Regions from separate parts of the Homo sapiens genome. Here all the other regions are linked to region 1. The links are contacts of gene promoters, found by promoter capture Hi-C in blood cells and fetal thymus (Javierre and others, 2016). All regions are on one chromosome and are shown on one strand. The core of a region is centred on a gene start or on the middle of the fragment in contact, and the rest is flanking DNA. Distances in the headings are between cores, read along the strand shown. Region 1 holds the start of APBB2 (amyloid beta precursor protein binding family B member 2). Region 2 overlaps APBB2 (amyloid beta precursor protein binding family B member 2). Region 3 overlaps APBB2 (amyloid beta precursor protein binding family B member 2). Region 4 overlaps APBB2 (amyloid beta precursor protein binding family B member 2).

Region 1 (2,700 bases), core at 40-2,539:
AACCTCACTGAGTCTGCATGAGGGTCCCTCTATACACTCTATTCGCACCTTGTGCATTTCCCTCCCAGCACTCTACCTGTTTGAAATAACCGTTTTGAGTGATTATTTGATAGGTGTCTGTCACCCGGCCGGACTATAAATTCCATGAAAGCAGGGGCCTGGGCTTTTAAATTCACCACTATCCTCAGGCCTAGTACAAGACCTCGTGGATCCTTAATAAACTCATGTAGGAAAGAATAAAGTAATGCCCACCCCACTGCATAGAGTCCTCATAGGAAGAATCACGTGAGTTTTTAATTCGAGATCCTTGGTAGGACTGTGTGTGTGTGTGTGTATGGGTAGGGTTCTCTAAAGTGTATAGTCCTCACACCAGCAGCATCAGCATCCCATGGGAACTTGTTAGATATACAGATGCTTGGGCCCCACCACATATCTACCCATTCAGAGACACAGATTGGGACTCAGGGATTTGTACTTCAGCAAACCCTCCAGGCGATTCTGATCCAGGCTCCAGTTTGACAACCGCTGCCCTGGTGAAGAGCAATCCTAAGGATACTTTGGGGATGTCATTCACAGCGTCTGGGGCAGAGCACGGTTTACCGTTTACTGAGACTCGACTCTTATCAGGGCTTTGTTTGCACGCTTACAATTAGAGTTATAGATAATATTATTGGCAATGGAAAGGAAAACCTCCTTTTCCTCTCCGGCAGTTGTATCTCTCCCCTGATATTATCTTGTGATTTCCGGATCAAAGAAGAGTGTGTGTGCGGCATATGCCTGGGGGTGGGGATAGGAGGTAGAAGGAAGGAGAAGGTGTCGCCTACAACTTGCAGTTAGCCTGGGTGGGTGTGGGCAGCTCTCCTGTGGGGACATTTTCCTATTGCAAGGGAATGCTGGCGTGTGGGAGAAAAGCCAGGGCTAAGGTAACCCAACTGCCTTTTGGTGCAGACAGACACCAGCCACACGGAGGGGATACCCGGGCTGCACTGCACGTCCTGCCTTTGGGTCTTACTGGGGGACCCATTGCCTCCCTGCGTGTTCCCAGGCGATTGGGGAGGGTGCCTCCCGCAGGCCCTGCCGCCTCCACCTGCAGGGGTCGCCCTGGGAGCGCGGCCCGCCTCCTTCTGCCCGGCCCCCACCCCCCGGCCCCGCCTTTCTCCCATTCGGCCCCCTCCCCGCCGGGTCCCTCCAGCCTTCCCTCGCGCAGCCGCTGCCAAAGCCTGGAGAAGTGGAATCTCGTCAGCGCCGCTCCCTGCGCGGGACTCGCGGAACGGCACTGAGCATGCTCAGTTGCCGGAGCCCGTTCTGGTCTCAAGTAGGAAGCTAGTGCGCTGTAACCGCATCTGATCTGGGCGCTCCGGGAAGGGCGAGACTGGAGCAGAGCCGCTGGGCGCCGGAGCCGAGGCGAGCGCCGCGCGCACCACTGGTGAGCCCAGCTTTCTTCCTTGCCTTTGCCCCGGATTCCGGGGCAGCACGAGAGTGCTGGGGAAACACCCGGGTAGCGGCAGCAGCGTGCGGCGAGCGGCTGCGGGTTCCCCCGGCGGCTTCTCCTCTGCTCCCGGCCCCGGGGCTCCGCGGCCACTGCTGCCCGCTCAGCCGCAGCCACACCTGCAGCAGCTGCCGCGGCATCTGCAGCGGGGCGCCTGCTGCGGAGTCCCGTGCGCCCTGCGCCCGCGCCGCAGGGCCAGTGGCACGGCGACTGCGGGCTCACTCTCCTTGACTTCCATCCCTCCCGCTTCCCGGCGCCCTCTTTCCCTCAGCAGCCCCGGCTTGGCAGGGCCTGGGGCGGGGGAGACCGGGTTGGAGGCGGTGCGCCCGGGTGGGGACTGCAGAGGGGAAAAGTGAGGGTGGGCGCCTGCGGGAAGAGCGCACACCCCCTTGTCCTGGCACCGGCCTCCGCTGTGCCGCTCGGCTGTCTCTCCTGGGCGGCAGCGCGCTCCTGCCGGGGAGTTGGAGCCGGGGTTGGCTTCTCCACGAGGGGTTCAGAGGCCAGCCCATGAGACATGAAAGGGGGGAAAAGTTCCTTTTCCCCCTCGGTGGCAGAGAGAGCGTTTAACTAGAAAATGGCTGTGCATAGGGGACCGACTCCAGGAAACTGGCCACTGGGACCCGAAAGCCCCTGCGCTGCCCACCGGGCGGAATGGAGGGTGGTACGCTAGAAATGACATTTGTGCGGCGAGAACAGAGCTGGACGGAGGGAAGGATGCTGAGACCCATAGAAACAATGAAAGGTGGTCTTCACGTCGGTGAAGTGGTGTAGACTACGGGTTCGGGGCAAACAGCCGAGGGAGCATGGGACTAGAATTCAAAAAAATAAATTAATTTGGATAAATCATATGTGGAGTTGTCACCGACCGTTCTGTAGTCAAGTTCTGCGCGGTTTTAGAGCCACGACTGTCACAGACGTTTTTGGATGGATTGAGTGGTTGAGGAGGGTTAAAATTGAGAGGAGAATAAGGTCAGTGTCGGAAGCTCCAACTGGGCTCTCGGAGGGGACAGTTTGTTTAAGTCCCTCAGTCACTGGCTTTACATTGTGTCTAATTACTTACGTGAAATACCCAAAGGATTATCATAAAATGATGCCATCGGTGGTGTTTGAATTCCAAGGAATGAGGAAACTTTGTGAGGTTGGCATGGGTTTATCATTTGTTTTAATATTTCACTGATTTAAAAAAAACAAACACAATGGCAGTTTGATCT
Region 2 (2,700 bases), core at 22-2,521, 130 kb after region 1:
CGATGTTTGATATTTTGTTGCATAGTGGGAGACTCAAACTTATCAAAAATAAGTACTGTGTGATGAGGGATGTTGGAAAGATAAGGGTTAAAGTTTCTTAGCATGTAATTTACTTTGAGAGCATTGTTGATTGGTGTTCTTTTAAGTTATGAGGTGTGGACATACCATGTTACGTTTTTAAAATGTGTCTAATAGGTTTATCTGACAGAAAATGGCCCCTCCTGACCTATCCATAACTTCCTTTTAAGTCTAAACGTGTGTCCTGTGATCCAATGTTTGTCTAGAGTTCCGTGTCATGTTCCTCCAACATACTGTGTCATGTTCCTCCAATATACTAAGTTCCCTGTTGCCAGTAACTGTGTCACAAGTCTTTTTCCTTTCTATACCTACTACAATCTGCTGTATTTGTAGTAGGTGTCAAAGTATCGGTAGTTCATTTGACTTGCTTTTAATTGTAGTTTTTTAAACGAATGACAATATTTCACCAATTTATACTTTCCTTAGTACTTCATTGACTATCAGTTGATATTCTATGATCAATGCAATTTTAATTCTGTCTTGTCATATTTGTTTAGTTAAAAAAATTTCAAGTTAAGATGGTTGAAAGATTATATAATCCCATAGAGATTTTTATAGTAAAAGTTTAAAATTCTGGTACTTGTGTTGGTTGGAAGTAGAACCTTCACTGGACAAGGTAAAACCCCTGTGTATAAATGTTTGGAGGCTGTCTTAAAGCTTTGTTGAGATGGAAAAAAAATTTTATATAACTAAGTATCAATTCAGGCATTTGACACAATGAATATATTTTGGAAATAGCCATTTATGGTTCTAGCATTAAAGGTGATTAGCTAGCTATGAATTTACCTCCTTTATACGCATGCATTACAAAGTGGACCCTACTTTTAAATTTCTCAAGAAGGTATTCTGGAAACAGCTTTTGAGAATGATTTCTTGGGATTTTTTTTCCCTTTTTGTCTTTCCATTTCTGAAACCTGAATAGAATTGTGCCATGTTCTTTGCAGAGCTGTGGTGATTAGATTGTACAGTTTCACACATGTGTACACACGTACACACATACACACACACAGACACACACACACTGCTGTGCAGAATCACTGTCCTGTTGTGTGATCTTCAAATGAAGCAAGAGAGGAATAATCTGGGATTGACTGAGATAAATTTATCTCAGCTCTTCAAAATACCATGTGAGCATAGTGTAACTCACTTGGACAGCTGTGGAATGAAACTCTTGTTTTAGTGGCCATTAGATACGTCAAGAGAACTGACTACGTAGAAGAATGTGTGGTAAAGGTAGTTTGGCAATTGGTCAAATTTGAAGTAGCATTTACAGGCCGAGGCAGGTGGATCACCTGAGGTCAGGAGTTCCAGGCCAGCCTGGCCTACATGGTGAAACTCCTAAAATACAAAAATATCTCCTAAATACAAAACATCTCCTAAAACAAAAAAACTCTCCTAAAAATACAAAAATTAGCCTGGTGTAGTGGCAGGCACCTGTAGTCCCAGCTACTCGGGAGGCTGAGGCAGGAGAATTGCTTGAATCTGGGAGGTGGAGGTTGCGGTGAGGAGAGATCATGCCACTGCACTCCAGCCTGGGCAACAAGAGTGAAACAACATCTTTAAAAAAAAAAAAAAAAAAAAGGAGCATTTACATCACCAACTGAAATTAAATAATTGTCCCCCAAGGTGATGTGTAGCCTGACTTTTGTGACTGAGGGATTGATCTCTTGACAAGTCTTTATGAAATAACACCACAGGAGGGAAAATTATATGCAGGCATCAAGCTTTGCATTTATTTTGCAAGCCCTCTTTATCGGGTTTGTATGATCTTGTTGTGTACAGCTAACAAAAGGTTACTTCTTTGTCATGAAAGCCGTCCTCAGTTTTCAGAGACAGTGGGGCACCACAGAGACTTTCTTTCTCTGCATCCACATTTCTATTAATGTCATTACTGCATTTGATTCCTTTATGAAGCCCTTTTGGTCACATCAACAGTGCATTCTAAGCTCTCTATCTTAACTTCTAGCTTTGTCTGCAAAATTTGTGTGGTTAGCCTGAGGCATATGCAGATAAATTGCCCAGGTTCAGTGTTCTCAGACTGGGAACTAAATGTGCTGCAGAATGCTGAATTGATGGGTGTAGCTTTTCAGCAATATTGATGTTTCTACAGTTGAATGTAAATCTTTGGATGCCTTGGTTTGCATTTTCATAGTCGTGTAGTTCCTGACCACTGGTTTTCAAACTGCCTCGTCTCTCTGAAAGCTGTGTTTCAGTGGAAAGACAAAGAAAATTGTTCTTCCTCACCCACTACTCTTCTGCCCATTCACAACAGTAAGAATCTGAGCATGTCTCTGGCCACACGCAAACAGTGGCAGCTCCCGATTCACAAGCTGCTTACATTTCCAAAGTGAGGTTGTTGTGAGGTCAATTAGTGGTTTAGAACTCTGAATGGGTTGGCTAATGGTAGAAACTAATATAAAGAATAGGTGAGCTGGCCGGTCGCGGTGGTTTACGCCTGTAATCCCAGCACTTTGGGAGGCCAAGGCAGGTGGATCACGAGGTCAAGAGATCGAGACCATCCTGGACAACACGGTGAAACCCCGTCTCTACTAAGAATACAAAAATTAGCTGGGTGTGATGGCCTGCGCCTGTAGTCCCAGCTACTTGGGAGGGTGGGGCAGG
Region 3 (2,700 bases), core at 200-2,699, 240 kb after region 1:
CCTCTGTTTACTTCTAACACCTAGTTCAATGCCTGGTTCCTGGCACATGTGCATTGAATGAACTGATGAATGAATACATGAATGAATGAATGAGTGCCTTGTATTTACTATTTAGGAGTTTCTGAAAATTAGTGGATGACTTAAAGTATATAAAAGTGGACAAATTAAATATATTAGGGATTTTGCTATTTTATTTATTTATTTATTATTATTTTTTTTTTTTTTGAGATGGAGTCTCGCTCTGTCACCCAGGCTGGAGCGCAGTGGCGCCATCTCGGCTCACTGCAAGCTCTGCCTCCCGGGTTCATGCCATTCTCCTGCCTCAGCCTCCCGAGTAGCTGGGATTACAGGCGCCCGCCACCACGCCTGGCTAATTTTTTGTATTTTTAGTGGAGACGGGGTTTCACCTTGTTAGCCAGGATGGTCTCCATCTCCTGACCCTGTGATCCACCCACCTCGGCCTCCCAAAGTGCTGGGATTACAAGCATGAGCCACCACAGCCGGCCAGGATTTTGCTATTTTAAAGGATTGTTGGATTAATCCTGTATAAAATTGAGCAGTAAAAATAGTCTATAATTTATCTAAGTGTGGATTTTTATTTGTGGGAATTTTATTTTTTGTTGAGAGCACTTTTGTTCGATGTTAGAGATTGAAACCAAATATTATATTTTAGTTTTCTCTGGTCACTCTTCTTATGAATTAATTGTCCCGTAAGGATACGCGCTAAAGTTGAAGCTCAAATCTGAACATGAAAGGATTCATTATGCACTATAGGCTTTTCATACCTATTAATAAGTCAATGGTTTGAATGTAGATCAAGAATTTAAGGGATTACTTTCACTAATTTTAATGTTAAAGCAAAATATCTGCCACCTGGTGTCAGATTAAGACTCAAAAGGTGTCAAAAGAAGGGGATATATGATAGGTTTTCTTTCTCTACTTTTGAAACATTTTCTAGTACTAAATTAGAGATATTAACTCCTTCAGGCCTCTTAAGTTCTATTGCTAAATAGAGATCAGTGCTCCTTTGATGACCATATAAGGAAAACGTTTCTGGGAAAAATATTGCAGAAGCCATGAGCGGTTATGTTATCTAATAGCCTCAGAATGGGAAAATTTAAAGAGAATGGAAAGCAGCTGACATAACCATTTTCCCAGAGAAAGCTCCTCCTGCTTCTGCATAAAGATGTATAATGTAATCCTTAGAGATCTCACTTCAATTATTGTGTCCTTTATTCGAATGAATAAGTAGAGAATTTAGTTTTTGCACTTGTCAGTACTATAACATGCCTTCTCAGCTTAAAAGTAATGGAGGAAATTACTTGTAAAAAAATTAATGAAAGAGATGAAAGATAAGAGAATTCAGGTTTAAAAAGTCACTGGTTTGTTTCTCAGTATGTTTAAATTTTAGGATTAATTTTTTTTCTTCCTCCTAGAGTTCGAGTCTCATAAGAAAGAATCGTGTTAATAGCCCCCGTTATGTTTTGCTGGAGTTTATCAGTCGGTAGAAATCTACTGAGCAATAAGAAGATGTTTCATAGCCTTGGTATAGGAATCATTGCGAGCTTGAAGGTTCACCCATACTAGGAACTTCTAAGGTTACAAGTATGTATGAAGGAAAATGCTTCTTCTCTTGAGACATAAACTGTAAATAAATGGCACAGTCAGAAGGGGACTGTTTAGTTATTGGACCTTGGAGAATTCTTAGAAGACATAGGGGCAAATGTATATGTACTGTCTGAGAGAGAGGAAGCCCTCCAATGTTTGGGAAGGGACAGTCTTTGGTTTTGCTGGACTTAAGGTGATGGTTTGCCTGGGACTGAGGGGTTTCCTGGCTTGTGGGACTTGCAGTGCTAAAACTGGCCAGGTTCCAGGAAACGAGGGCAGTGGGTTACCCTTAACTAACGTGACCTGCTCATTGCAGGTCACTTAGTGTGCCTGGCCTCTACCTACCAGTGGTGCCTCATTGTGGGAACCCATCACTCCCATACATTTTCATGTGTCCCGAGATAGGAAGTACCCCTCGGGAGAACTACTCTGAGTCTAGCCCGTGGTGTCAGAGCATTCTAGTCTCACTGGCAAGACCATTGCTGAAGTAGAATGGATGCATGAAGCTGTCTTCAGTCTTAAAACAAACAAAACCCAAATGCAGTTAGTTTAAATGCCTTTGGTTCAAAAAAAAAGGAGGAGTGGGGAGAGGTTGCAATGTTAATCTAAAATCAATGCTTGGAAAAAATGAGGAAATTGATTCTGAGGAGAATGAGAAAAAAAATGAGATTGAAACCATACTAAACGGGGCATCGAGTGCAGTGCCATGCGAAAGGAAGTCTTTCATTTTGTTCATAAACGTTTAAGTCAAGTTCTCACTTATTCATGATCCTTATTAAGGAGTAATTAGTGGTTCCCATATAATCTTCAAATTAATTTATATAGTCATGCCAAGATGTCCAACTTTTAGAAGATTTGGGAGGGTAGGAGGATTAAGGGACTTCCAGGATAATGGGCCCTCATCCCTCTTCCCCATCTCCTTTGAATAAACGGTTGCTTCCTAATGAGAAAACAATCCTGTAGAAGGGATGAGGATGAGGGCAGAAAAAAGATGGATCCCCTCTGACGTAGGCAGGTTTAGGGTAATATCAATACATGTAAGGGCAGGATATGTTTTGAAAAATCCCTGACTAATTACAGGGCTGTTATACA
Region 4 (2,700 bases), core at 11-2,510, 190 kb after region 1:
GGGAAGAGAGCTAGGTGTAGTGGTGCATACCTGTAGCTCCAGCTACTTGGGAGTCTGAGGCGGCAGGAGGATCGCTTGAGCCCAGGAATTTGAGGCTGTAGTGCATGATGACTGTGCCTGTGAATGCACTCCAGCCTGGGCAACATAGTGAGACCCTGTCCCTTAAAGTAAAAAAGAAATTGAACAGAGAAAATGACCTTGGAATATAATTTCCAAAGTTGACTACTCCAAAGGTCTTAATTCTTACTTGAATATACACATTCTGCTTGTGCTTCCTAAATAACTGACCATCACATCTGCCAGGTGTTATGTTGGGAATGGCAAGCTTTCCCCCATCTGGAATGCCTTTTTCTTTCTTGTCCACTGCTGGGCTCCTTTCCACCCTTCAAGATCCGGCTCAGCTCTTCTTTTTGTTTTGAGATGGAGTCTAGCTCTGTCGCCCAGGCTGGAGTGCGGTGGTGCGACCTCAGCTCACTGCAACCTTCGCCCCCCGGGTTCAAGTGATTCTCCTGCCTCAGCCTCCCGAGTAGCTGGGACTACAGGCATGTGCCACCATGCCCGGCTAATTTTTTGTATTTTTAGTAGAGACGGGATTTCACTGTGTTAGCCAGGATGGCCTTGATCTTCTGACCTCGTGATCCGCCTGCCTCAGCCTCCCAAAGTGCTAGGATTACAGGCATGAACCACCGCGCCCAGCCAGCTCTTCTTTTTGTGGGAAGCCTTCCCTGAACCTCTCTCCTCATCCCTAACATGGTGTTCTCATAAGACCCTCTGCCAACTTCAGCCATTGTGAGTTTGTGTAATCTGATTTTCTGCCAAATCTGATTTTCTTTTTTAGAAAATAACATTTCTTACTTATTTTTTATAATCGACAAATAAAACATGTATATGTTTATTGTGTACAACATGTTGTTTTGAAATGTGTATACATTGTGGAATGGCTAAATCAAGCTCGTTAAGATTGAGTTTATTAAAAAGTATGTGATACATCTGTCTTAAATCTCAGTTCCACTTCAAACATTGAACAGAGTGAGTCCTCAGGCAGTTAAGTTTAATGGGACACAAGAAACCCTCAAGTGGGTAAGATCTGATTGTATCTGACACTCTGCATCAGCAGTGTGACATTGCTCGCCTAGTTAGAATATTCTGAGGTTCAAATCCTCCCATCTCCCTGGCCCGGTGACCCAAGCTGCCTTATTGATAACTTTTGCCTCTTTTGTTCACAGAGTTCTTATCATTTTTGTCACATTGAAGGTTTCCTTTCATGAGTAGTTTCGGGAAGCCAGCTTTATTTAGCTTCTCCCTCCTAAAAGGAAAAGAAAAATCAGAGTTTATTTCATTTCCTTAATATTTTGTAATCTAGTTCAAACAGTGACATTCCTCAGGGTAGGTTTCACTATTAACTCCTCAGTGGAAATGAAATTGTATAGCAGAAAAATAAAAATGAAGCAAATGTGAAGTTTCATTCAAGCATGGGGCAAACATTGGTCTTCCTTTGGCCCATTTATCAACCCTGGGCCCGTTTGTCAGTTTCCAATTTTATAAGCATGTCGCGGGAGTAAAGGGAGAGCAGCAGGTTATTGAAGAGAGAAGTTCTTGTCATTACTCACAAACTCTTTCTTTGACAAAAGGCTAAAGGTCTTAGAAAAGGGAAAAGGAGGAGGGGGAAAGCCAGGTTTAACCACAGGATGCAGCACAGGTTTGTATTAGGATGTGGTCCGAGTTACAGGGCCAGTAGGCCTGGTTGTATCTGTGCTGGGGCCTTTGTGGCTGGGATCGAGAGAAGCTGGGCAAGTCATGAAATTAGAGTGATCCTGGCTTATCCAGTTTTGTTTAGGTTTCATAAAAAATACTTTGTGTATTAACGAGGGCTCTTTTAGTTGCAAAACAGAGAAAACCTAGCTCCAAGTGGCTTAGGCAAAATAAACACATAAATCTATCGACCTGAGAAGTCCAGCAGTATCATATTTCAGGCATGTCTTATTTTAGGGATTCAGTCATTAGGGCTTGCACATTTTCTCTCTGTCTCTTGGCTTCGCTTTCTTTGGTACAGTCATGCTGGGCAGGTTATCTCCTCATGGTGACCCCTTGAAGCTCTAGGCTTATATCTTCTAGTTCAAGAAAAAGAGAAAACAGAGCACCACTCTTACCTTCTGGCAAGTCTCATGGTTGGCTTCATGTGGGTCATAAGCTTTTCCTTGAACCAGCCACTAGAGCCCTGGGGATTTGCTACTGTGATTGGCTGTGCCTTGGCCATGTGCCCCCTGAAATAAGGAGTACAATCATCTCTGCCTGAAACACATGGGCCTAATCCCTAGAGTGTGCGCTCTGCGCTCCATAGGTATCTTTACTTTGTTGGTTTTGTTCACTGCTATATCCTCAGCACTTAGAAGCATATATGGCATGGAGTAGTGCACAAAAAATATCTGTTGAATGATTGAATGGGTGTAGGGGAAGGCTGATTCCCCTAGAAAATTTGCGAGGCTTTTAACAGAAAAGGAGGAAACACGTGCCAGGCTATAATAGATGTTCCTTCATCATGCATGCAGGAGAGCAATGACAGCAGTAATATTAGCTCTTGTCACACTCTTAAATCTGAACTTATACCCACCTCTGGATTAGGAATCGATCCTCTTGAATTGATGTTGGAGCTTCATAAATCACACTCAACATAGCATGATGAATAGACGTGGAGGGGAT

What was found. Contacts are between HindIII fragments. The CHiCAGO score rates a contact against its expected background, and 5 or more counts as called.
Region 2: a contact is called between a fragment that was not itself captured here and the fragment with the promoter of APBB2 in region 1, in 1 of 17 cell types (endothelial precursors). The highest score is 6.0, in endothelial precursors.
Region 3: a fragment that was not itself captured here is called in contact with the fragment with the promoter of APBB2 in region 1 in 7 of 17 cell types (M2 macrophages, endothelial precursors, M0 macrophages and 4 more); the score reaches 22.9 in M2 macrophages.
Region 4: a fragment that was not itself captured here is called in contact with the fragment with the promoter of APBB2 in region 1 in 1 of 17 cell types (endothelial precursors); the score reaches 9.4 in endothelial precursors.

Annotation. Positions count from the first base shown.
Region 1 is chr4:41,213,131-41,215,830 of GRCh38, reverse strand. APBB2 (amyloid beta precursor protein binding family B member 2) reads left to right here and starts at 1,289. Exons shown (of 18, transcript NM_004307.2): 1 at 1,289-1,426. RefSeq lists silencers at 1,025-1,194, 1,605-1,914. The HindIII fragment of the contact is 4,637 bases long and covers 1-2,700 here.
Region 2 is chr4:41,079,658-41,082,357 of GRCh38, reverse strand. All of the region lies in intron 3 of APBB2 (amyloid beta precursor protein binding family B member 2), which reads left to right. Among named protein-coding and RNA genes, the nearest start is that of APBB2, 130 kb to the left of the region's middle. The HindIII fragment of the contact is 1,067 bases long and covers 738-1,804 here.
Region 3 is chr4:40,969,953-40,972,652 of GRCh38, reverse strand. The region is part of intron 6 of APBB2 (amyloid beta precursor protein binding family B member 2); the gene reads left to right. Among named protein-coding and RNA genes, the nearest start is that of NSUN7, 220 kb to the right of the region's middle. The HindIII fragment of the contact is 2,943 bases long and covers 1-2,700 here.
Region 4 is chr4:41,027,873-41,030,572 of GRCh38, reverse strand. All of the region lies in intron 5 of APBB2 (amyloid beta precursor protein binding family B member 2), which reads left to right. Among named protein-coding and RNA genes, the nearest start is that of APBB2, 190 kb to the left of the region's middle. The HindIII fragment of the contact is 1,866 bases long and covers 328-2,193 here.